Regions from separate parts of the Homo sapiens genome. Here all the other regions are linked to region 2. The links are contacts of gene promoters, found by promoter capture Hi-C in blood cells and fetal thymus (Javierre and others, 2016). All regions are on one chromosome and are shown on one strand. The core of a region is centred on a gene start or on the middle of the fragment in contact, and the rest is flanking DNA. Distances in the headings are between cores, read along the strand shown.

What was found. Contacts are between HindIII fragments. The CHiCAGO score rates a contact against its expected background, and 5 or more counts as called.
Region 1: a contact is called between a fragment that was not itself captured here and the fragment with the promoter of APBB1IP in region 2, in 6 of 17 cell types (total B cells, activated CD4 T cells, naive B cells and 3 more). The highest score is 6.5, in total B cells.
Region 3: a fragment that was not itself captured here is called in contact with the fragment with the promoter of APBB1IP in region 2 in 1 of 17 cell types (neutrophils); the score reaches 5.1 in neutrophils.
Region 4: a fragment that was not itself captured here is called in contact with the fragment with the promoter of APBB1IP in region 2 in 2 of 17 cell types (fetal thymus and total B cells); the score reaches 8.0 in fetal thymus.

What each region holds. Positions count from the first base shown.
Region 1 is chr10:26,840,516-26,847,030 of GRCh38, reverse strand. All of the region lies in intron 1 of ABI1 (abl interactor 1), which reads left to right. Among named protein-coding and RNA genes, the nearest start is that of ABI1, 17 kb to the left of the region's middle. The HindIII fragment of the contact is 1,045 bases long and covers 2,461-3,505 here.
Region 2 is chr10:26,433,492-26,439,732 of GRCh38, reverse strand. APBB1IP (amyloid beta precursor protein binding family B member 1 interacting protein) reads right to left here and starts at 1,392. Exons shown (of 15, transcript NM_019043.4): 1 at 1,278-1,392; 2 at 880-1,081. RefSeq lists enhancers at 1,059-1,138, 1,699-1,828, 1,546-2,075. The HindIII fragment of the contact is 5,297 bases long and covers 1-3,839 here.
Region 3 is chr10:26,815,064-26,821,456 of GRCh38, reverse strand. All of the region lies in intron 2 of ABI1 (abl interactor 1), which reads left to right. Among named protein-coding and RNA genes, the nearest start is that of ABI1, 43 kb to the left of the region's middle. The HindIII fragment of the contact is 7,986 bases long and covers 1-6,158 here.
Region 4 is chr10:26,797,446-26,803,487 of GRCh38, reverse strand. The region is part of intron 2 of ABI1 (abl interactor 1); the gene reads left to right. Among named protein-coding and RNA genes, the nearest start is that of ABI1, 60 kb to the left of the region's middle. The HindIII fragment of the contact is 591 bases long and covers 4,030-4,620 here.

The DNA.
Region 1 (6,515 bases), core at 1,734-4,233, 410 kb before region 2:
TATAGTTGGCCTCCTCCATTAATCAAATAACTCAAACTATAATAAATTACATCTAGGGAAGGTACATGTGACATGAAAGTATACATCAGGTGCTGCCACCTAGCTTGGTGTGTCATAGAAGTAATGTTGGAGTTGAGATCTGAAGGGTGAATATATGTTAACCGAGAACATTTGGGGGAAGGGAAAACAGTGTCTCTGTGGAGGGGAGAGCAGCATGTGTACAGGCTCAAAGGTAAGAGTGAAGGCAGAGTGATTTTGAACAAGTTACACACTTGTGTACTTCAGAGTAAACAGAGTCATCTGTGAAGAGGTAGGTAGGTACCAGATAAGGATTTTGATCTTTTTTTTTGTCTGAGGCTGATGAGAAGGCATTGAAAGTTTTAAGCAAGGCTGGGCGCAGTGGCTCCTGCCTGTAATCCCAGCACTTTGGGAGGCCAAGGTGGGCCCATCGCTTGAGGTCAGGAATTTGAGACCAGTCTGGCCAACATGGTGAAACCCCGTCTCTACTAAAAATACAAACATTAGCCAGACATGGTGGTGCTTGCCTGTAGTCCCAGCCACTCAGGAGGCTGAGGCAGGAGAATCACTTGAACCTGGGAGGCGGAGGTTGCAGCGAGCTGAGAGCACGCCACTGCACTCCAGCCTGGGCAACAGAGTGAGACTCTGCCTCAAGAAAAAAAAAAAAAAAGAAAAGAGAAAGAAAGTTTTCAGCAATGGGATGATATAATTTTTACTTTTTATGAAGTTTACTCTTGTTTAGAGTGGAGAACAGATTGGAAGGAGGATTGACTACAGATTGGAAGGAGTTCAGAACAGATTGGAGGGTGGCTAGTCTAGAGGTGATGGTAGCAATTGGTGATGGTTTTTCTAAAATCTTTTTTTTTTTTTTGAGACGGAGTCTCACTCTGTCGCCCAGACTGGAGTGCAGTGGTGTGATCTCAGCTCACTGCAACCTCTACCTCCCAGGTTCAAGCAAGTCTCTCTGCCTCAGCCTCAGTAGCTGGGATTACAGGTACCCACCACCGTGCCTGGCTACTTTTTGTATTTTTTTGTAGAGACGGGGTTTCACCATGTTGGCCAGGCTGGTATTGAACTCCTGACCTCAGGTGCTCTGCCTGCCTCGGCCTCCCAAAGTGCTGGGATTACAGGCATGAGCCACTGTGCTTGTCCATTTTTTCTAAAATCTTCAGTGCCTGAACTCATCATGGTAGACTGTGACTATTATTTTTCTTTTCTAAAAAGAGGAGTATTTGAGGCTATTGGGATTTGTTGAACTGAAATAGAGAAAGATTCATTCAACAAATAGTTAATTGCCTACTCTATGGAAGACTGTCTGTTAGGTATTATGATGTGGTGGTATGATGTCTATATTATTATTATTATTTTTGAGACAGAGTTTCGCTCTTGTTGTCCAGGATGGAGTGCAATGGCACGATCTTGGTTCACTGCAACCTCCACCTCCCGGGTTCAAGTGATTTTCCTGTCTCAGCCTCCCAAGTAGCTGGGATTACAGGCACATGCCACCATACCCAGCTAGTATTTGTAGCTTTAGTAGAGATGGGGTTTCATCATATTGGTCAGGCTGGTCTCGAACTCCTGACCTCAGGTGATCCGCCCGCCTCAGCCTCCCAAAGTGCTGCGATTATAGGTGTGAGCCATCATGCCCTGCTTTGTGTCTATATTATTTATAAGCTATGTAGAAATCACTGAAAAGCCTTAAATCTAAGAAAAAGAAAATTGGTCTATAGTATGTATAGTTAAATGAGGAAATGTTCTGTATGGAAGAAAAATAATTGTTATTTTTGAAAGGGTTTTGATTTTAGTTTGGGCAGTCAGAAGTTTGCTTATGGAAAGAGAATATGTCAAGCAGCTTTTTTTTTTTTTAAAGCATTTAGGTAATATGTTCCTATAAAAGGGTCAATACAGTTGTATTAAAAGTCAAACCTAAAATGTCTCTTCTTCTTCTCCCCATACTGCTATTATCCTCTCCCCTCAAACTGTATGCTTGTTTTCTGCCTTTCCAGTTTTTGTACAAAGGATGTGCTTTGGGAAGATTCATCTTACATTGGTACGGGATGGATTGGAGAAGGGAGAGACTGGATGGACAGTGACCAGTTAGAGGACTGTCACATTTGTCTCACTGTAAAGAGTATTTCATGAATTGAGATAGCTGTAGTAAGATTGAAAAGGAAGATAAGAATCAGCAAGCCTTGGTGAAGGAGATATGGGTGGCTGCGGGAAAAGGAGAACCCAAAGAAGGCTTATTTAACCGGTATCTATTTTCCCCTAGCATAAAGCTAATGCGCCTACAGAAGGTAATTTGCAGTCACAGAAGTGAATCTATAGACCCCCTCTTTTTCAGCTGTTAGTACACAGTTGGTTTCTGACACTTTCCAGCTTTTACTCCTCCACAATTGAATTGATTGGCAGAGCAGTGGGTTGGAGAATAGGAATAAAGCTTGACTGCTAGCTGGCTGCGTGGGCAGAACAGGGAAGGGAAGAGGGAAGAGGAGAGGAAAGGGATTCCAGTTTCTCTGGCTATATACTGTTGTGGCATGAGGTGCATGTCTTTTGATGTTAATTTTGATGTTCTATCATAACCTTCTGCATTACAGATTGTTGGTATTTTTATATGTGTAGTCTTTATAAATTTCAAATACATATGACGTGGGTTGAAAATGATCTCTTTTTGAAAGGAACTTTTAGAGAGAATTCTAAGGAACAGTAGTGTTTGGGGGTTCTCAGGCAAAGTTTCTCCTAAAGAATGAGTTTAGCCGAGTCATTAATTTAAAGAGTTGAGGGGAAGGGGGATTGGGAGGCAAGGGATATATATAGGTAGTAGGAACAGAAAGATAGCAAGGCATGTTTGGGAGAGCTGTGAGTAGTGTCAAGTGCCAGGGAAGGTGGAGGAGATGAAGTCTTAGTCAAAAACATACTTGAACTGCTGTCACTAAACTGTAGAAGATCGGATCAGTGTTTCCCAGATTTGAAAATAGAAACCGTGTTTTAAATTTAACACTGGTAAGATGAAATTGTGCTTTTGCTATGTCCTGACATATTCTGTTCATTTGTCTAGACACGTTTGGCATAATCAACAGAAACCACTGGATGAGTGGTTAAATATAAGATAAATGAGTTATAGGTCTGAATCAATCACTTTTGTATGAGCTAATTGTCATAACTTGGGGACTGCTTGTATGAGTGGCTTTATTGTTAGTGTTTATTAATGTCTTGTGGTATATAGAGCTATTTTTTTTTTCAACTCAATTGGGTATTTCTTCCACCCATCCTACCTCTCCTACCTTGCCCCACTACCACAAAGAAGAAGAAGAAAGGCAGCATGGTACTATCTCTATGAAAATCCTGCCACTCTCATTTTTGCTTTTTGGGTGAGGAGGTACGGTGCTGCAAGGTGGGAAGAATGTGTGATATATTAATATTTACATCACTGAGGAGAATTGCAATACATTCCTTTTATAGTCACATGGAAGTTTTAGGAAAAGCTTTGCTTCTACATATATATATATATATATATATATATATATTTTTTTTTTTTTTTTTTTTTTTTTTTTTTTTTGAGACGGAGTCTTGCTATGTCATAAAGGCTGGAGTGTGGTGGCATGATCTCAGCTCACTACAACCTCCGCCTCCAAGGTTCAAGCGATTCTCCTGCCTCAGCCTCCCAAGTATCTGGGACTACAGGTGCATGCCACCACACCCCGGCTAATTTTGTATTTTTTAGTGGAGACAGGGTTTCACTGTGTTGGCCAGGCTGGTCTTGAACTCCTGACCTCAGGTGATCTGCCCACCTCATCCTTCCAGAGTGCTGGGATTACAGGTGTAAGCCACCATGCTGGACCCCACCAAGATATTTTGACCTATGGATACTATAAATCATATAATCTTTTTTCCTTTATCTTTGTGGATTCATGCAAAAGCCAGAGCCAAACTTGTGGCTCTAATTTATTATTTATTTATTTACTTTTTAAGATGGAGTCTTGCTCTGTCGCCCAGGCTGGAGTGCAGTGGCTAGATCTTGGTTCACTGCAGCCTCCTCCTCCCGGGTTCAAGCAGTTCTCCTGCCTCAGCTTCCCGAGTAGCTGGGACTATAGGTGCACACCACCATGCCCGGCTAATTTTTATATTTTTAGTAGAGGTGAGGTTTCACCATGTTGGCCAGGATGGTTTGATCTCCTGACCTTGTGATCCACCCTCCTCGGCCTCCTAAAGTGCTGGGATTACAGGCGTGAGCCACTGCGCCTAGCCTCTTGTGGCTCTAATTTATTATGTAGTACTCTGTGGTCTGTATATTAATGTCTTGCCTTTATCTTTTATATTATATGGTAAAACCCTGATTTTTGTATTTTGAATTTTCTTGTTTAATTGTACACATTTTTGTACTGGTATATCAATAGCTAATGGCCTCTCCCCAGACCAATGAAATTGGCATCTTTTTAGGGGGAGAGGGTTAGATTGGGTCTCAGGCTCTGGAATTTTTTAAAAAGCTCACCAGATAGTGCTGGTGTCCAGCTAGAATTTTCTTTTTGGATTCCACACTAAAAGCTTAGGCCATAAAAGCAAAAATAAATAAATGGAATGACGTCAAACTGAAAAGCTTCTTCAAAACAAAGGAAACAATCAACAAAATGTAACAACCTATGGTCTGGGAAAACATATTTGCAAACCATTTATCTGATAAGGGATTAATATCTAAAATTCATGAAGAACTCATATAATTCAATAATAGAAAAATAATCTGATTAGAAAATGGGCAAAAGACTTGAACAGATGTTTTTTCAAAGAAGACATAAGGATGGCTGACAGGTATATGAAAAGGTACTCAACAGCATTAGCCATGCAGAAATGCAGATCAAAACCACTGTGGGCGTCACCTCACACCCCTTAGGGTGGCTGTCATAAAAAAGTGAAGTGATAACAAATGTTGGCGAGGGTGTGGAGAAAATGGACCCCTTGTACACTGTTGGTGGGAGTGTGGATTGGTACAGCCATGATGGAAAATAGTATGGAGGTTGCTAAAGAAATGAAAAATAGAAGTACTATATGACCCAGCAATTCCTTATCGGGCATATACCTAAAGGAAGTGAGATCACCTTATAAAGATATCTGCACTCCCATGTTCATTGCAGTGTTATTTACATTAGCCAAGCTGTGGAAACAACCTGAATGTCCACTGATAGATGAATGGATAAAGAACATGTGATATGCATATATAATGGAATATTATTCAGCCTTAAAATGCAGATACTGCCATTTGCCACAACATGGATGACCTGGAGGCAGTATGCTGAGTGAAATAAGCCAGACACAGGAAGACAAATATTGCATGATCTCATATGTGGAATCTTAAAAAAAATAAAAAAAAAGAGTCAAATATACAGAGTGAATAAAAGAGTGGGTTACCAGGAGCAAGTGGGTGGGGAATGGGAAATGTAGGTGAGGGGTAAGAAAATAGCAAGTATGTAGGATGAAAGAGCCTAGAGATCTAATGTGTAACATGTAGCTAATAAGAGGACTGTAGCTAATAAAATTGTACTATATTTGGAATTCCTGCTAAATGAATAGATTTTTAGCTGTCCTTGCCACAAAAACAAACCAAAAAAAAAAAAAAAAGGTAACTATGTGGGTTGATATATATGTTAATTTGCTTCACTGCAGTAACCATTTTGCTTTCTATATGAATCCCATAACATCATGTTGTATGCTTTAAATATATACAATAAAATTTATTTAAAAAATGAAATAAAATATATGGTTGATATAAAAAGAATAAAAGCTCACCAGGTAGTGCTGATGTCCACCTAGAGTTGAGAATCACTTTTCTAGAGCAAGAGTGGGCAGGTGTTTCCTGTAAAGGGCCAGATAGTAAATATTTTAGGCTTTGCATGCCATATGGTCTGACACAATTACTCAACTCTGCTATTGTAGTAAGAAAACCATAGATGATATGTAAGGAATGGATGTGGCTATGTTTTAGTAAAATGTTATTTGCAAAAATGGGGAGAAGTATTTGGCCTGAGCAGGGACATAGTTTCTTGATCTTTGTTATACAGCCTGAATTTTAATTACTATGCTAGAATCTAATGGTAGTGGTTGATGATGGACCAAAACTGTATTGGTGTGGCCCATATACTGAGGTGAATGCCTTTTTAAAAATGCTTTTGTATCCTGTTAATTGGTGTTTAGATTTCTAAGTGATTAAATTACCTATTTGCCTGGGATCTGATGTGATAATTTATTAATAAATTATTATTTTTTGTCTCTTGTTTCTGTGTGAACAGAATATCCCTTTGTTCACATCTCAGATTTTTTGGAATAGCAGTAGCATAGAAAATTCAATTGATTACAGTAGAGATTAATTGATACTTACAGTTTTGTAAGTTTTATACTCTTCCAGAATAGATTAAGAAATTAGGATACACGTAATTTGTCAGGTAGTGTCATACTGGTCCTGATTTTTGATTTGGAAAATGTGATTAATGAATCACTAGGCTGGA
Region 2 (6,241 bases), core at 143-2,642:
GTTACTTTCCTCTAGTACTCCGTCTCGTCAAGGATCACATTAAAAGTTCTTTTGAACCGCTATGCCCTGAGTGTCTAGGAAACACATTTCACGTTCCACAGGGGTATGAACTAAGAAATACCTTAGCAGGAAAGTAAGAGGTACACCGGGCTAGGTCTTTGGTGGAACACCTGCGCAGAGGTTCTTGGAGACATTAGGACACCCTAGTTAGTTTCCTCCATTCTGTAAAAGGCCCTCTGGATATTCATTTCAAGCCAAATTATGAAACTTGTGCCTGGTGTCCAAATCTATCTTTATGGTATTTTAAAATGAAAATGAGAATATTCGGGGGAAAAAGTTATTTTTAAAAAGAGGAAAGAGTTGTCCAAAAGTTTTAGAGGAAGGAAACACTCTAAGATGCATCAGACTGCGAGCCACACTCAAATTCTCACACGGCTGGCATTTAATCCACATCTAATCTTGGCCCCTCAAGAATCCCTCCAGGTTCCGGGAGACTGGGGCTCCCGGACCTGCTGACCTGCTGACCTGCTGACCTGCTGGACGTGCAAGGGTTCATAGCAGTTCCCCGTTTGACCTTGCAGCAATTTCCTGGGCAGGAAATCTGTCAAATCTGTTGCAATAGCTCGGGAAAAAGCAAACCCGAACCCCAAACCCTCACACCCCCACCCTCGCGAGCCGGGTCCAGAGTGGAGATCAGCGGAGGGGACCCTGGGGACCCGCTGCGCTCGAGGGCCACGCCTGGGGGCACGCGTTCACGAGGCCAGATCCTGGAGCTGCCCCCGGCGTCGGACCCGACGGGCTTGACAAACGGGTTCCTGACAGCCCCGAGGGGCCCGTGCTGGCGCTCCCAGGGCTCCCGGGACTGGGAGCGCCACTTACCTCGACTGCTCTGCGGGGCGCTGCGGGGCGCGGGAAGGCGGCGAGACTCCGGCCGGGAAAGCGACGCGCGGTGCAGACTGCCGCACCCGGGCTCCAGGTCGCTGCCCCGGGGAGGAAGTGCTGTCAGCCCTGCCCTTCCCACGCAGCGCGCAGACGTGTGGCGCTATCCGAGCTGCTTTGCTCCGAGGTGCAAGGAAGGCCCCTGGTTAGAGACAGTGGGACAGACAAACATATGCGTAAAGGACTCCGAGTTAGGGGCTGCTTTCTCCAACTCATCGAGTCTGCGCCTGATTTTCTCTCCCCCATCCCACCCCTACTACACAACCACCTTGAAGGGATTTTTATTTTATTTTATTTTATTTTATTTTAATTCTGGGAAACGTTGCGCCTCCCCCTACCTGTGCCGCGCGCGCCCTTCTCTCAGGAGCGTCTCCTGGCGAATGGAACCATTTTGCAGCCTCGACGCAAGAGGGACTAAGGGATTGGGGCCTAGTGATGGTTCCACCAAAGACTGAGAGGCCGCTTTATGTTGCAACGGTCTCCCAAAGTGTTTACTTCAGCACTTTCTGGGCTTCCTCTTTTGGGCCGGTTGTGCAAGGCTTCCCGGCCGCCTGCAGCCCGCCCTCAGGGGACGCGGTGCAGGGCTGGACTGGCAACACGCGCGTCCCGGCCGGAGTTCAGCTGTCTCTCGGGTGGGGGTGGAGGAAGGGCGCGCTGGGCGGAGGCCCTTTCTCAACCATCAGGTTGGTAACCTCACCCTCCTCCCTCCCCACGTTTAACCACGCTCAGTTGGCCGGCCAGGGTGTAGAGGAATAGCACTGTCTTCATTGCTCGTAGAAATCCAAAATGGTCTGAACCCCGTGGAAGAGAATTGAGCAATATCTATTTAACTTATGTATGGATTCGCCTTTTGACCCCGTCATCCCACTTCCAGGAGTGTGTTACGAAGATCTGCTGATGAAAATAAGTAATGCACACGGCAGAGGGCATTCATGGACTCACTATTTGCAACAGCATAGGACTGGCTGGAAATAGCACCTGTCAGTTGGGAGTGGAGTTTCCTGAGAGAAAGTCGCTGGGGAGGTCTGAAAATACAGAAGTTAAAATCAGTTATGATTTGTAAATGCGGTTGAATAACCCTCCCCTTCTCCTCTACAGCTGTGTCTTCAAAGGCTTATATGTCAGGGAAGGTGGTGAAGACATAAAGACAGAAATTAGGTGCATGTGTTAATTAGGCAATTTCAAATAGTTCTGTCATTTATTTAATGAGAAACTATTCGTAAGCACCAACACTTCTAAGAACAATGAAAATAGTTAGAGGAAACAATTTCTGCTCTCATGCATGGTGCATTCTAGTTGGTAGAAAGCAGACAATAAACAAATTAATATTTAACATGTCAAGGAATGTAACTAGTTTTGAAGGAAGTTAAAAGGTGAGGGATAGAGAGTGATGGGCATGGGGATGGGGTTGCTGTATTAATTAGGGTAAATAAACGATAAATAAATAGAAAATATATTTTCTCCTCATGATTTTCTTAATAACAGTTTCTTTTCTCTAGCTTTCTTTATTGTAAAAATACAGTATTTATCTAAATACATATAACATAATATGTGTTAATTGACTGTTTAATATTATCAGTAAGGCTTCTGGTCAACAGTAGGCTATTCGTGGTTAAGTTTTGGGGGAGTCAAAAGACATACATGGATTTTCAATTGTGCAGCAGTTTGGTACTCCTGAAATCTGGCATTGTTCTGTTACAGTAGGTAGCTAGTCAGGCATGAGCAGGGCAGGAGAGGGCTCCTCCCACCCCCTACCAGGAATGTCAGGTGACCATCAGGTGATGATCAAGCAGTTGTTATCAGCCTTACTGATAACATAGTCGATTAACTCATATTATTTTATATATATTAAATACTGTATTTTTATAATAAAGTAAGCCAGAGAAAAGAAACTGTTATTAATAAAATCATAAGGAAGAGAAAATGTATTTTTCATTTATTTATTTATTATTTATTTATCCTAATTTTTTTTAATATAGCACCAGGGAAAGGCAGTCTCCCAATAGACAGAAACACCTGAAACTGGTATTTCTGTCTGATAAGTGACACTTGAGCTAGATCTAAATGGCATGAGAGATTAATCCACACTGGGTTTTTAGATGGGAATATTCCAGGCAAAAGGAACAGCACATTCAAAGACCCTGAGTTAGGAGAGCACTTAAGATATTGGAAAAACACCAAGGAAATTAGTACGGCTGAGCAGAGTGAGATGGGAGGGACAGACATGAGATGGGATCAAAAGGAAATGGTGCCCAGATTGTGTGCTATTTGGGAGCTGTGGAAGAGAATTTGATGTGAGTGAGATGGAAAGCCAGTGGAAGGTTCTGAGCAGAGTTGTAAGTGCTACATAAAATATAAAATCAAACAATGAGAGTGACTTTCTTGGGGCAGGGAAAGTGGTCAAGGATCACCTCTTTACAAAGTAATGAGAAGGGGCAGCCATTCAGAAACTTGGGAAAGGATTCCAAGAGAAGGAAGAACAAGAAGAGGGGCTGAGATAGGAACATAGAAAGTTCAAAAGAAGGCAGGCCAGTGTGCCTGGAATGTTCTGAAAGAGTAGGGCAGCAATAGTGGATGGGGACAGAGAGGTAAGCAGGAACCAGAACAAGCAGGACCTTGTAGCCAGCATTGAGGACTTTAGGTTTTATTCTAATTGCAATGGGGGACTATTGGAATGTATTTAGCAACTGAGTGCATGATTTGACTTAAGCGATAAGCCATCCTGCCAGTTGGTGATTGTTCAGAAAATCAATTGATTGAAGCAAGAGAAGAGAGATTCCTCAGTAGACTATGGTCAGAGTCCAGATGAAAAATGATAGTAGCTTTATTAGTATTCTAACAGTAGATATGGTGAGAAGAGTTTGGAATCAAGATACAGTTTTCAAAATAAAACCAAAGCTTGGCACAGTTGCTCATGCCTGTAATATCAGTGCTTTAGGAGGCCAAGGTGGTAGGATCACTTGAGGCCATGAGTTCAAAACTAGCCTGGACAACATAGCAAGACCCTATCTCTACAAAAATGGGGGAAAAAATTAGCTGGGTATGGTGGCTTATGCCTATGGTTCCAGTTGCTTGGGAGACTGAGGCAGGAGGATTGCTTGAGCCCAGGAGTTCAAATCTGCAGTGAGCTATGATGATGCCACTGTACTCCAGCCTGGGCAACAGAGCAAGACTATTTAAACAAACAAACAAACAACCACCTAGCAAAGTAGAACCAATAGCATTTGCTGATGGGTGGGCTGGGAAATGGGATGGGAGTAAGGGAGTGGCAGAGGGATTAGAAACTGAATGGAAACCAGTATGATTGGAGTTATGGAAGGTCTGGTTAGAGGTAAGGTCAGTAGGGGCAAACCATGTAGGGTCATGTGGACTATGTCAAGAATTATTTTCTCATCCTAAGAGCAATGAGAATATATTAAATAATATTTTAAGCTGGCAAATGATGGGATTTATGCTTTAGGAAAATCACTCTGGCATAATTTGGGGAACGGATCAGATGAAGAAAAGAATAGATGCAGGAAGACTTCTGAGCTAAGTTGGGAAAGAAAATACAATTGGCCTTTGAACTGCCAGCAGCAGAATATATCTGAGACACGGCACCAAAATATGTTAGCTTTGGCAAAACCATATGGGTCTGTAGCGACCTAAATTCTTGCCTCCTCAGAAGAAAGAATTCAACTGAGGGGCATAAGGCAGAAGAAGAGACTAAGGCAAGCTTTAGAGCAGGAGCGAAAGTTTATTAGAAAACTGTAGGGCAGTAACAAAAGAAAGTAAATTATACTTGGAAGAGGGCCAAGCGGGTGACTTGAGAGAAGTGCGCTGTTTGACTTTTGACTTGGGGCTTTACGCATTGACATACTTCGGGGTCTTGTCTTCCTCCTCCTGATTCTTCCCATGGAGTGGGCTGTCCACATGAGCAGTGGCGTGCCAGCACTTGGGAGGTGAGCATGCGCAGTGTGTTTACTGAAGTTGTACGCGTGTTCACTTTAGGCATTCTTCCCTTACCAAATGTCCCTGGAAGGTCATTTGCCAGTTAAACTCCACCATTTTACCTCTTAGTGCACATGCTTGAGCCCACTCGCCCAACTCCTGAGATCTTATCTGGAAGCTGTTGATCACCAGTTTCAGGTGTTTCTATCTATTGGGAGACTGCCTTTCCCTGGTGCTGGCTGTGATCAATTATTATTTTAGAGACACGGTTAACAGTCCCCTGACCACCACCTGATAGTCGCCTGACATTCCTGGTAGGGGGTGAGGGGAGCCCTCTCCTGCCCTGCTCATGCCTGACTAGCTACCTACTGTAACAGAACAATGCCAGGTTTTAGGGGTACCAAAATGCTGCACAGTTGAAAATCCATGTATAACTTTTGACTCCCACAAAACTTGACTACTAATTGTCTACTGTTGCCCAGAAGACTTACTGATAACACAGTCGATTAACACATATTATGTTATATGTATTAAATACTGTATTTTTACAATAAAGTAAGCTAGAGAAACTGTTATTAACAAAATCATAAAAGAAAATATATTTTCTATGTATTTATTTTTTATTTATTTTCAGAGTCTCACTCTGTTCCTGGACTAGAGTGCAGTGGTGAGATCATAGCTCCTTGTAACCTCAAACTCCAGGGCTCAAGGGATCCTGCTGCTTCAGCCTCCTGAGCAGCTGGGACTATAGGCATGCACCATCATGTCCAGCTAATTTTATTTTAAATAATTTTTTGTAAGATGGGGTCTTGCTATGTTTCCCAGGCTTGTCTAAAATTCCTGGCCTCAAGCGATCTTCCTGCCCCAGCCTCCCAAAGTGCTGGGATTACAGGCATGAACCACTGTGACTGACCTCATATTTACTATTTATTAAGTGGAAGTGGATCATCATAAAGGTCTTCATCCTCATCTTCACGTTACTCAACTTGAGTAGGAGGAGGAAGAGGAGGGGTTGATCTTGCTGTCTCAGGGGCGGCAGAAGCAGCAGGAAAATCCAAGTATAAATGCACCCATGCAGTTCAAACCCATGTTGTTCAAGGGTCAACTGTATAATTGTTTTGACTAGGTCAGCAGCAGCGGAAATGCGAAGAAATGGGTGAAACTGAGAGACATTTAGAAGGTAGTTTGCCAGAGATTCAGAGGACTAGATATAGGCAGAGGGAGAAGAGCGGGGGAGGCAAGGATGACTCCAAAGAATCAGGTTTGTATGATGATGGCTGACCATCCCATCATCAAGATGGGGAACTCTGGAAGAGGAGTATTTGGGCAGGGGAAGATAGTGAGTTTTATTGTTTGCAAGTTGAATTTGACA
Region 3 (6,393 bases), core at 916-3,415, 380 kb before region 2:
CATATTGGTAATTGGTGTCATCTTTCTTTTTTAAACTAATCATTATGGCTAGTTTACCAACTTTATCGATATTAAAAACATCTTTGGCCTTATTAATTTTCTATGTTTTTGTTTTCTGTTGCATTGATTTCCATTCTGATCTTTATTATTTCTTTTTCTTTTCCTTACCTTGGGATTGATTTGCTCTTATTTTATACTTTTTTTTTTTTTTTTAGATGGAGTCTTGCTCTGATGCCCAGGCTGGTGTGCAGTGGCATGATCTCGGCTCACTGCAACCTCCATCTTTCAGGTTCAAGCCTTTCTTGTGCCTTACCTTTCTGAGTAGCTGGGATTACAGGTGCACCTCACCACGCCCAGTGAACTTTTTTGTATTTTTAGTAGAGGCAGGGTTTCACCATGTTGGCCAGGCTGGTCTCAAACTCCTGGGCTCAAGTGATCTGCCTGCCTTGGCCTCCCGAAGTGCTAGGATCGCAGGTGTGAGCCACCACACCCAGCCTTATTTTATACTTTATTAAGGTGAAAGCCAAGGTCATTTAATTTACTTGAGACCCTTAATCTTTTCTAACATAGGTGTTTAGGTCTGTAAATGTCCCTCTAAATAGTGTATTATTGGGAGGCCGAGGTGGGTGGATCATGAGGTCAGGAGTTCAAGACCAGCCTGACCAAGATGGTGAAACCCTGTCTCTACTAAAAATACAAAAATTAGCCGGGCGTGGTGGCGGGCACCTGTAATCCCAGCTACTCACTCAGGAGGCTGAGGCAAATTACTTCAACCTGGGAGGCGGAGGTTGCAGTGAGCCGAGATCGCGCCACTGTACTCCAGCCTGGGTGACAGAGCAAAACTCTATCTCAAAAAAAAAAAAAAAAAGTGCATTAGCTGTATCTCATACATTTAGATATGTTATGCTTTCATTTTCATTTAGCTGAATATAATTTCTAAGTTTGCTTTTTTATTTCTTTCTGACCCAGGGGTTATTGGAAATGTGTTGCTTAGTTTGCAAGTATTTTCAGGTTTTGCAAGGATATTTCTGCTGTTGATTTTTCTAATTTAATTTCTTACTGGTCAGAAAAATACACCTCATTTGATTTTTTTTTCATTAAGTAGCTTTCCCCCGCAGCTTTATTGAGTTATAATTGACACAAAAATCATATATATTTAAGATGTACAATGTGATGTTTTGATATACATATACATTGTGAAATGATTACCACTATCAAGCTGACTAGCATATCTATCACCTCACACAGCTACTTTTTTTGTGTGTGGCGAGAGCATTTAAGATTTCCTCTTTTAGCAAATTTCAAGTCTACAACCCTATATTATTAACTATAGTCATCATGCTGTACATTAGATCTCCAGAACTTATTCATCCTGCATAGCTGAAACTTTGTACCCTTTGAGCAACAGCTCCCCATTTCCCTTACCCCCTAGTCTCTGACAACTACCATTCTACTCTCTGCTTCAGTGAGCTTTGATTTTTTTAGATTCCACATCTGAAAAAGGGAGATCATTCAGGGTTTGTCTGTCTGCGCCTAGCTTATTTCACTTACTGTAAGGTCCTACAGGTTCATCTGTTGTGTCATGTTGCAAATAACAGAATTTTCTTTTTTAAGGCTGAATAATAGGAATTGTAGTCTGTTTAAATAAATGTATATGTATATCCCCCCCATATTTTCCTATTCATCCATTGATAGACACCTAGATTGATGCTGTGTCTTGGCTATTCTGAATAATACTTTATATGCTGTGAGTCCTTTCATATTTATTAAGAATTGTTATATATCCCAGAATATGCTCTGTCTTGGTAAATGTTTTGTGTGCATTTGAGAAGAATGTGTATTTTTCTCTGGTCAGGTGGAATGTCTATAAATCTCATTAAGTCAAGTTGGTTGATAATATTCAATTCTTCTGTATCTTTACTGATTCTATCTAATTGTTTTATCAATTATTAAGGAAGGTAAATTGAAATCTCCAACTATAATTCTGAATGTCTATTTTTCTTTGCATTTTAGTCTTTTTTCTGTTACGTATTTTGAAGTGATACTATATTAGGTACACAAATGCTTTGGCTTGTTAGGTCCACTTGATGAATAGACCCTTTATCTTTGTAAAGCCTCTTTTTATCTTGGGTAGTATTCTTCAGAAATCTGCTTTGTCTGATATGAATACAACCATTCCAGCTTTCCTTTTATCCTCTTTTTCTGCCTCCTTGTGTGTTAATGGAGTGAATTTTTTTTGGGGGGGGTGCTGATTTGGTGTAACACTTTGTTCTGCTTCTCTCTTTTATTATTTCATTCATGTTTGCCTTAGGGCTTCTGGTAAACATCTTTAAACTTTTTAATATCACTTGAAGGTAGACTATGCTATTACTTCAGGAGTATGTTTAAGACTTTGTAATAGTTGATTCCACTTCTCTCCTGTCTTAGGGCTGTTGGTGTCATGCACTTTCTTTTTTCTTTTATTGAGACGGAGTCTCGCTCTGTCACCCAGGCTGGAGTACAGTGGTGCGATCTCGGCTCACTGCAACCTCTGCCTCCCACGTGCAAGCAATTCTCTGTCTCAGCCTCCCGAGTGAGTAGCTGGGATTATGGGTGCCCGCCACCATGCCCGGCTAATTTTTGTATTTTTAGTAGAGACAGGGTTTCACCATCTTGGCCAGGTTGGTCTTGAACCCCTGACCTCGTGATCCACCCACCTCGGTCTCCCAGAGTACTGGGATTACAGATTACAGGTATAAGTCGCCACGCCTGGCTTGTGTCACGCATTTTCTTTTTGTGTATGTTTTAAACCCCACAATGCTTTGCTCTTTTTTTTTTTTTTTTTTGTGACGGGGTCTCGCTTTGTTGTCCAGGCTGGAGTGCAGTGGCGTGATCTTGCCTCACTGCAACCTTTGCCCCTGCCTTCCCCCACCCCACCTTCCCAGTTTCAAGTGATTCTTATGTCTCAGCCTACTGAGTAGCTAGGATTACAGGTGCATGCCAGCTAATTTTTGTATTTTTAGTAGAGACGGGGTTTCACCATGTTGGCCAGGTTGGTTTCAAACTCCTGACCTCAAGTGATCTGCCTGCCTTGGCCTCCTAAAGTGCTGGGATTACAGACATGAGCCACTGTGCCTAGCCATTATTTTTGTTTTGAAAAGCAACTAGCTTTGAATGAGATTTAATATGAGGAAATTAATTCCTTTATATTTACCCATAGTTATTATTTCTGATCAGAAAATATACATTATATGATTTGAGTCCTTTCAAATTTGTTAGGAATTTTTTTTTTTTTTTTTTTTTTTTTTTTTTTTTTTTTGAGATGGAGTCTTGCTCTGTCTCCCAAGCTGGAGTGCAGTGGCACCATCTTGGCTCACTGCAACCTCTGCCTCCTGGGTTCAAGCCATCCTCCTGCCTCAGCCTCCCGGGTAGCTGGGACTTCGGGCATGCGCCACCATGCTCAGCTATTTTTTTTTGTAGTTTTAGTAGAGATGGGATTTCACCATGCTGGCCAGGCTGGTCTCAAACTCCTGACCTCAAGTGATCTGCCTGCCTCGGCCTCCCAAAGTGCTGGGATTACAGACATGAGCCACCGTGCCCGGCCAGGAATTGTTTTATAGCCCAGAGTTTTGGTGGTTTTTATTCCCTTGGAATACTTTAGCATGAAGTGTTGCTCTATTCTGCTGGTGATGAGTTCTTTCAGCTTTTGTATATCTAAAAGAGATTTTTGCTTTTTATCCCTGTTTATTATTGTGGCAGAATATGCATAAGATAAAATTGATCATTCAACCATTTTTAAGTGTACAGTGGCATTAAGTACCTTGACATTGTTTTGTAATTATCACCACCATTCATCTCCAAAACTTCTTTCCTTTTTCCAAACTGAAACAATGTACCTGTTAAGCACTAACTCTCCATCCGCAAGTGATCCTCCCACCTCAGCTTCTTGAGTAGCTGGGACTACGGACATGTGCCATTGTGCCCAGCTTATTTTCATGTTTGGTGGTATCCTGTTGCCTTTTTAGATTTTAGGACAAAATTGATATAGATTGGAACTTTGCTAAAATAATTTTTTTTGTAGAACAGAATCTAGTGTAGAGTGATTCATGCTGGTTCTTGAGGACTTGCACAATGTCTGGCAAATGACTGGTTTGCAGTGTTTACTGAATTAAAATAAATCTCTTGGCCGGACATGGTGGCCTGTAATCCCAGCACTTTGGGAGGCTGAGGTGAGTGGATCATTTGAGGTCAGGAGTTTGAGACCAGCCTGGCCAACATGGTGAAACCCCGTCTCTACTAAAAATACAAAAATTAGGCGGGCGTGCTAGCAGGCACCTGTAATCCCACCTACTCAGGAGGCTAAGGCAGGAGAATCGCCTCAACTCGGGAGGCAGAAGTTGCAGTGAGCTGAGATCCCACCAGTGTACCTCAGCCTGGGCGACAGAGTAAGACTCCGTCACACACACACACACACACACACACACACACACAAAGTCTTTGCAAAATTACTTAGGAAAAATATAATAGAACCTAGTTTTTAGTTGATTCTTATACATGGATTATAACCAGAGGATCACTGTACATTTTATGTATAGGCAGTGATTATTTTGCATGGTTATTGGAGATTATAAAAAATGGTGATGCATGCTCAAGGTATACAAAACAATCTTACTAGTCAATGGGTAAAATTATGGTTGTTCTGTGATCTGTAAAATTTTTTGTCAAAACATTAAAATCTCTCTTTTTGTTATAAATGAATAGAGAAATGAAAAAAAAGTTATGCTAATGTTTAGTATACCATAATGTAAAACATTCGAGGTATTGAGAATTAAAGGGTTTTATTTCTTAAGAAAGTAGTTTGAATAGTGCTTGCTACCTTCTCACTGTGTAAGTTGTTATGAAGCACACATTTTTTTCTGTGCCTTGGCAAATTGTCATTCTCCTTTCTCTGGGTGGATCAGCTCCTCTCAACATTTTATCCTTTGGATTTTAAATGTTGTGAAATATCTTCTAGAGTTTCTTTAACATAAAGTTTTTATGGGTATCATTTTATCTGTAGTATCTTCTTCCCTTTCTTCTCAGCCACTTTGTTCATTTATGTTAATACATTTGCCTTCATGATATTCTTCTGGCTGCATATCTGTAGTCTCCTGAATGGCAGCAATGTTAGCATTCCTGTATGCATTATTTCTGTTTTAATCCCATTTACATTCAATTCGAATTTCACCTCTATCTAGCATTATCACTTTTCATGTATTTGCTGCAGTTTCATCTTTGTTGGCCAGTTCTCTCTTTGATACCCAGTTTTGTAAAATGTCACAATGGCTTATCATTTAGGGGACAAGGAAGCAGCACAACTATGTACTTTGTAGTCTGTGGATAAACTTAATATCAGATGTACAGAGACCATTCACCAATAAACTTTGAAACAAAGACACGATTGGTAACCAGTAATGATGCTCATCTGTTACTTATGTGGACTTCAGACCTAGCAGCGAAGTTTCTGCTTTGTGCGATTATTTATAGTTCTTGTGGTAACTGAAATTTATTTATTTTTATGTTTTTATGAGACAGAATCCTGTTCTGTTGCTCAGGCTGGAGTGCAGTGGCACAGTCATAGTTCACTGCAGCTTTGAACTCCTGGGCTCAAATGATCCTCCCGCCTCAGCCTCCTGAGTAGCTGGGACCACAGATGCACACCACCATACCCAGCTAATTTTTTTGGGTGGTGAGGTAGAGATGGGATCTTGCTGTGTTGCCCAGGCTGGTCTTAAATTCCTTGCTTCAAGTGATCTTTCCACCTTGGCCTTCCAAAGTGCTGGCACTACAGGTGTGAACCACTGCACCTGAATGTAACTGAAATTTAAATTGTGTAGTTGGAGGACTGGTGTTAACTAAAATATGGTAACTGAAATTCATGCGTATCAGAACTGTGCAAAACAACTGCCTATATTTTGTTTTTTCAGTAACAAAACATTTTCAAATTATTTTTCTTCTTTATTTAATTATGAATATTCTCTGTGTTCTGCTGAGCTTACTGAATTCAATTCTCATTCTTTGGAAGATGTCTTAATTCATACAGATGTAGTTATTTCAGTAGATTTAAAAATAAAGCTGTTAATACTATCAATTGACTTACTGAATCATAAAAAAATTAAGGTGACTAGGTAAATGAAGCTTTTGTAATTCTGTAAATTACATTGAATTACTTGGAACTCTTAAATGCAGCTGAAATCTAATTGGCTAAATTTACATAAAAACAGGCTTTTGGGGGGGGCATTTATTCTTAATTGGGGAATTAAAAAGAGTATTTCCTTGCTCTTCCAAATTGCTATTCTTAAAACATTGTTTAAGTAAATGCATTGTAGTGAAAGAAATTTTTTTTTAAATCTCTCAGAGCTTTATGAGGGATTT
Region 4 (6,042 bases), core at 3,076-5,575, 360 kb before region 2:
ACATTTCCACTCTGCCTTGCAATTCTTGTGAAATGACCAGGCAAGAGCTATTTAACCAAGAAATAGGAGAGCAAATGGACTTCAGCCATTAAAAAATCCCTGTACCTGTTACTTTTATTAAAAACCCACACCCATTTCTGTCAGATGAGGTCATGTCAATTCTTAAACTTTGCCTTTAGCCTAAAGGTAAAGGGAAGGGAAGCATGGTATAAAAGATTGATCTTATTTCCCCTTGCTGCTCTAGTTTTCTTCTTTTCCCTTTTTTTCCCTCATATTCTGTGCTTCAAACATCCTAATTTATTTACTCTTCTGGAAGTGTATGTTTGTAGTGCTAGTCCCTTTGCCTGGAATGTCTGTCTCCCCTATTTCTTCTGCCTAACTCTTGCTCATTGTTTAGGCTTCGTCTTAATTGTCTCTGCCTAATGGAAACCTTTTCCTTGCTCCCAGAACACTAGGTTTGATTTTTCCTAGTACTTCTATATATACTCCTGCATGACAGATAGCTTCTGTTTGATCTTCCTGATCTATGCTTTCCTTTTTCTCTCCTGTTCTGTGCCCGGTAGGCTTACTTGTATGGATTTTGTCAATCAGTATCTGTGACTTGGATCACAGTTCAGCTAGTGTAGAAAACAGGTAGATTGGAAGCAGTGAGAAAGGCCAATTCAGAATATTTATTTCCCTGGTTTCTTCGCTGTGAGGTTACCTTGGGTTGGCAGTGTCCGGACACAGGTACTGCCTCCTCCAGGTGGTCTTCTCTGTGTGACTTTCTGTTCCACATTGTTGTAATCTCTCCCACCCCTTGCCATTTGGATTTAGAAGTACTGCTCCTGCTGTTAGCGCTACTTCCTATATTTACCATGTTTTCCCCTTTCCCCTCATCACTCCATTGTGTTTACTTCCTTTGTATGTAAATGCTCTGTGAATGATTGTCATTGATTTATTGTATTAGTTTTTGATTGGAAGTCTAGCTAGTATATCCCCAACATGTATTATTTGTGATACTGCCTTCTCTCTCTCAAACAATTGCCTGTTTTTGCCTTTGCCCTCATTTTAGGTAAACAGGAGCCTCAGTCGGTGAAATTCTAAAGCACTCTACCCACTTTAGATAGGACAGTGCTGTTTTAGTTTATATTATATATTGAGAGTCTCTGTAAGACTTGATTTGAAATTAGGGTTGAATAATAAAAAAGGTTTGAAAATTAGTGACTACAAGGGAAAAAATCCTAAATTACTTTTAATGGCATTTAAAGGTTCTTTAAAGGTCTGGCATCTGGCGCCTGCCTTAATTTTTTGCCTTGTCCTAACTCTTCTTAGACTTTTAACTTCCAGGGATAACAAATGTTCTCTCCCATGTTAGTGTCTTGACATATGTTATTACAGACATGCATCACCTAGCTAATGCCCACTCTTCGTTTAGTTCTTATTAACCTAACTTTTTTAAAAGGGTGGTTTTCCCCTGTTTCTCCTTTCTGACCTGTTTCCTGTCAGCAAACATGCTATTAGGAGTCTCTGTTAACTATTTTTGTGGCATCCTATACTTTCCCTTCATAGCATTTATTATTTGAATTATATAGCTATTTGTCTGATTGTTCGGTATGTGCCTTCCATAGGAGGTCTATTATGGTCATTGCTCTATTCCCATTGTCTAGCATGCATGCATGCATTTATCCAACAAATAACAGGGAAGGATGTTAGAGTGGAAGGATAATCACATCATCTCTTTGGAGGAGTATGATGCAGAATTTAGGGCCATTAGAATTCTTTACTTCAGTTAATGAAAAATCAGTGTATCTTTTTAGAGAAATTTTATTGGATTGCAAGTTACAGGCATAGGACAAAAGAGCTTTTTATTTTGAACAGTTTGAGAATAACTTGCTGGTATGATGCTCTCATTGCCCCTAAATACTGTAGTGTGTATTTTCTTTTTTCCTTTTTTTTTTTGAGACAAGTTCTGGTCCTATCGCCTAGGCTGGACTGCAGTGGCGTGATCTTGGCTCACCGCAACCTCTGCGTCCCGGGCTCAAGTCATCCTGCCACCTCAGCCTCCTAAGTAGTTGGGACTGCAGGTGCATACCACCACGCCTGGCTAATTTTTGTATTTTTTGTAGAGACAGGGTTTTGCCATATTGCCCAGGCTGGTCTCAAACTTGTGAGCTCAAGTGATCCGCCTGCCTTGGCCTCCAAAGTGCTGGGATTATAGGTATGAGCCACCGTGCCCGGCCACGATGGTGTGTATTTTCTAGAAACAAATACATTTTACTGCATCACCGTATTACGCTCATCAAAGTCGGGTGATTACCACTGATACATTGCTACCATCTAATCAACAAATTCCATTCAAGTATGCCAGTTGTTCCAGTAGTTTCATAGGAAAGGATCCAGTTCAGAAACATTAAATGTCATGTCTCCTTCATCTTCCTCAGTCTGGCACAGTTCCTCAGTCTTCTCTTGACCTCATCTGACCTTGATCCTTTGTTTTTTGAGATGGAGTTTTGCTCTTGTTGCCCAGGCTGGAGTGCAATGGCACAATCTCGGCTCACCGCAGCCTCTGCCTCCTGGGTTCAAGTGATTCTCCCGCCTCAGCCTCCCCAGTAGCTGGGATTGCAGGCGTGTGCCACCATGTCTGGCTAATTTTGTATTTTTAGTAGAGATGGGGTTTCTCCATGTTGGTAAGGCTGGTCTCGAACTCCCGACCTCCCAAAGTGCTGGGATGACAGGCGTCAGCCACTGTGCCTGGCCCCTTGATTTTTTCTTTTTGAGGCAAGGTCCTGGTCTGTCACCCAGGCAGCAGTGTAATGGTCCTGTCATGGCTCGTTGCATCCTCCACCTCCTGGGCTCAAATGATCCTCCTGCCTTATTTTTTTGTTTTATTTTATAGAGATGAGTTCTCACTATGTTTCCCAGGCTGGTCTCAAACTGGAGGGTTCAACCATCCTCCCACCTTGGCCTACCAAAGTACTGGAATTATAGGTGTGAGCCACCGTGCGCGGCTGACCTTGATACTTTGGAAAATTTATAGCCAGTTGTTTTGTAGAATGTGTCTCCGTATGGGTATGTGTAATGCTTCCTTGTGATTAGATTCAGGAGTTTTGTTTTTGTTTTTGAGACACAGTCTCACTCTTTCCCCCAGGCTGGAGTGCAGTGGCGCGATCTTGGCCCACTGCAACCTCTGCCTCCAGGGTTCAAGCGATTCTCCTGCCTCAGCCTCTTGAGTAGCTGTGACTGTAGGCACACGCCACCATGCCCGGCTAATTTTTTGTATTTTTAGTAGAGACGGGGTTTCACCATGTTGGCCAGGCTGGTCTTGAACTCCTGACCTCAGGTGATACACCTAGGTTGGCCTCCCAAAGTGTTGGGATTACAGGCTTGAGCCACTGCGCCCGGCCCGATTCAGGTGATATATTAAGGATGACTTTTTGAAGGCAGTAGTTTCCTATTTAAAAGCTGCTCCCACTGTCTTAATTTTTTTTTTTTTTTTTTTTTACGTTTTTGTGGTTTATATTGTAAAATTGTTTTCCAAGTGTTTTTAGTTTTGTGTCTTTAGAATCTGTGATAATATGGAAATCTAGAGGAAGCCTGTAGAGAACTTGGCATGCCCATCAAGATGTGATGTCCCTAAAAATATTTTGAAAGAGAGCAGCAAAATGTACTGTCAGAGGAATTTTTTTCAATTAATTGGGAATAATTGATTTTGCTATAATTTGTCATTAAGATCATTTCTAATTGAAAAATTCTTTGGGTTTTGAATTGCAAATGGTACTTGAACTTCTAACGCATAAATAAGTATATTTAATTATGGCAGAACTTATTTCTAAAATAGCCTTCTTGGTTAAAACAAATTGTACACATTTCATCTCTCAGTTTTAGCTCTGAAATGATTTGAAAATCCAAACGAAGGCAGTCAGAATCACTGTTCTAAGCCTATTTTTAGATTTTTTCCCCTTCAGTTGGTTTCCTTTCTAGCCACCTGCAGTTTTATGTGCAGTTGCACGTGCTCATTTTTTCTAATTTCCCCCCTCCCCCGAAGCTTGGCAAGCAGCTTCTTTATTGCTTTTGGTTTGTTCTTTTTGAAGAGCACAGTGTAAATTATAAAGCCTTCATTGAGTATTTAAATGTATTTTAAAATATTTTTGAGAAAATGCAGCATAATTATGGAATACAGGACACTCTGCCTCTAAGAATCTTTTCTGATTATAGTTCTCGATATTATATTAATATACTATATATTAATATGCAGAATATATCTTTTTTATTCTTGCAGTTTTTTTCTGTTTTTAAAGATTTGTCTGGATGACAGAGCTTTGGGAGATGGAACTGGAAAAAAGCTAAAAAAATTGCCTCTTCTAAGAAATCATATAACTGGATTCACAAAAATACAGTGATACTTATTTTAATAGGAGTACTATTGAATTTACATTTAATGTAGTTAATGATATATTTGAATTCAAATGAAACAACATCATTTTGTGTTTTCTACTTATGTCATCTGTTCTGTCTCTTTTTTCTCCTTTCTTTCTTTTGGATTAACTTCCTTCGGAGATTTGTTACATGTGTACATGCTGACTCCTGCTTGTGGTGAATTTTTTTCCTTATGTGTTTTGTAAATTTGTGTTGTAAGCTTATTTTAAGATCTCATGTGTTGAGATCTCTGTGCCACTTAAGGGATATACCATTGATAAGCTAAGCTGAAGGTATATTCCCTGTTCTGCTAAGTGTTCTAGGATGCCGTCAGTCCAGGACTATTTATACTTTTTGAACCTGAAAACTTCATGGAAATGTGTATACTTTCTAGAACATTCCCCAACCCCACCTCAGTGTGTGCGCCTTAGTTTCCTATAGTTGCTGTAACAAATCACCGCAAATTTAGTGGCTTATAACATATCTTTATTATCTTACAGTTCTGGAGGTCAGAAGTTTGAAATGGGTTTCACTGAGCTAAAATTAATATGTGGATAGGGCTGTGTTCCTTCTAGAAGCACTAGGGGAGCATCTGTTCCCTTGCCTTTTTTCAGCTTCTAGAGGCCACCTGCACTTTTGGCGCATGACCCCTTCATCCATCTTTAAGTCACCAATGGCCAGTTGAGTCTTTTTCGTATGGCATCACTGATCAGTACTGACCCTCTGGCCTCCCTCTTTGGCTTGTAAGGACCCTCGTGATTTCATTTGATTCACCCCCCCCAATACTGGATAGCACCCCGTCTCAAGATTCTTAATCACATCTGCAAAGTCCCTTTTGCTATATCAGTTCTAACTTCCCACCTTCAGCAAGCCCAAAGGGTATTTTAATTTTGTCCCCATGTGGCATAAAAGTACAAGCTCCTTTGCTAGAGGCCAAAAAGCTACTACAGAGTAGCTGCAGCCTTGTTCATGTTTTCTGCTCTGAATTTTTGTCCTCTCTTTTTCCTAGTCTCCCTGGATTTTCTTTACTCTCTTTAGTTTTGGACTGTGAATTTTAAAAAGATGCTTTCATAGCATCTTTAAATCAAGCATTTTTAGGTAGTTTCTAGTGGGAGAGATTTCAGGTTATCTAATGTGCCATATTGCTCTAGTTGGCATTGCTTATATTAGTAAGGTAATAATGACTTTAACAAGACATAAAGTCTGTTACTTTGTTTTCCTATTATCCTTTAATTTAAAATGCTTTTAATGTCAATCAAAACCCCTCAGTGAATCTCATCTTTGAAAAGTCAGTTAATTGTGATTAAAACTCAGTTTCTTCATATGAACATTCCGTTCTACTCTGATATCGACAAGCCATGCTTTTTTTCTTTAATCTGAACAGCATGTCTTGGTTTACAGCTCTGACCCCACTATTCAGCCAGATCAGGTTTTTCCTACCATGCCTTGCCTTCCTTCTTGACTGTCTGCTGAGATTCTCCCTCATTTTTACATTTTCTGTGTTTCTGCTTATCTCATTTGAGCTAAAGGCATATAGATACTCTTCTGTACCAAGCTGTTATCTTTGGACTTCATTTTACAACTCCCTCCCTTCCTCCCTGTGATAATATGTGAATGTGATTAAAAACCAGTCACATACTACCT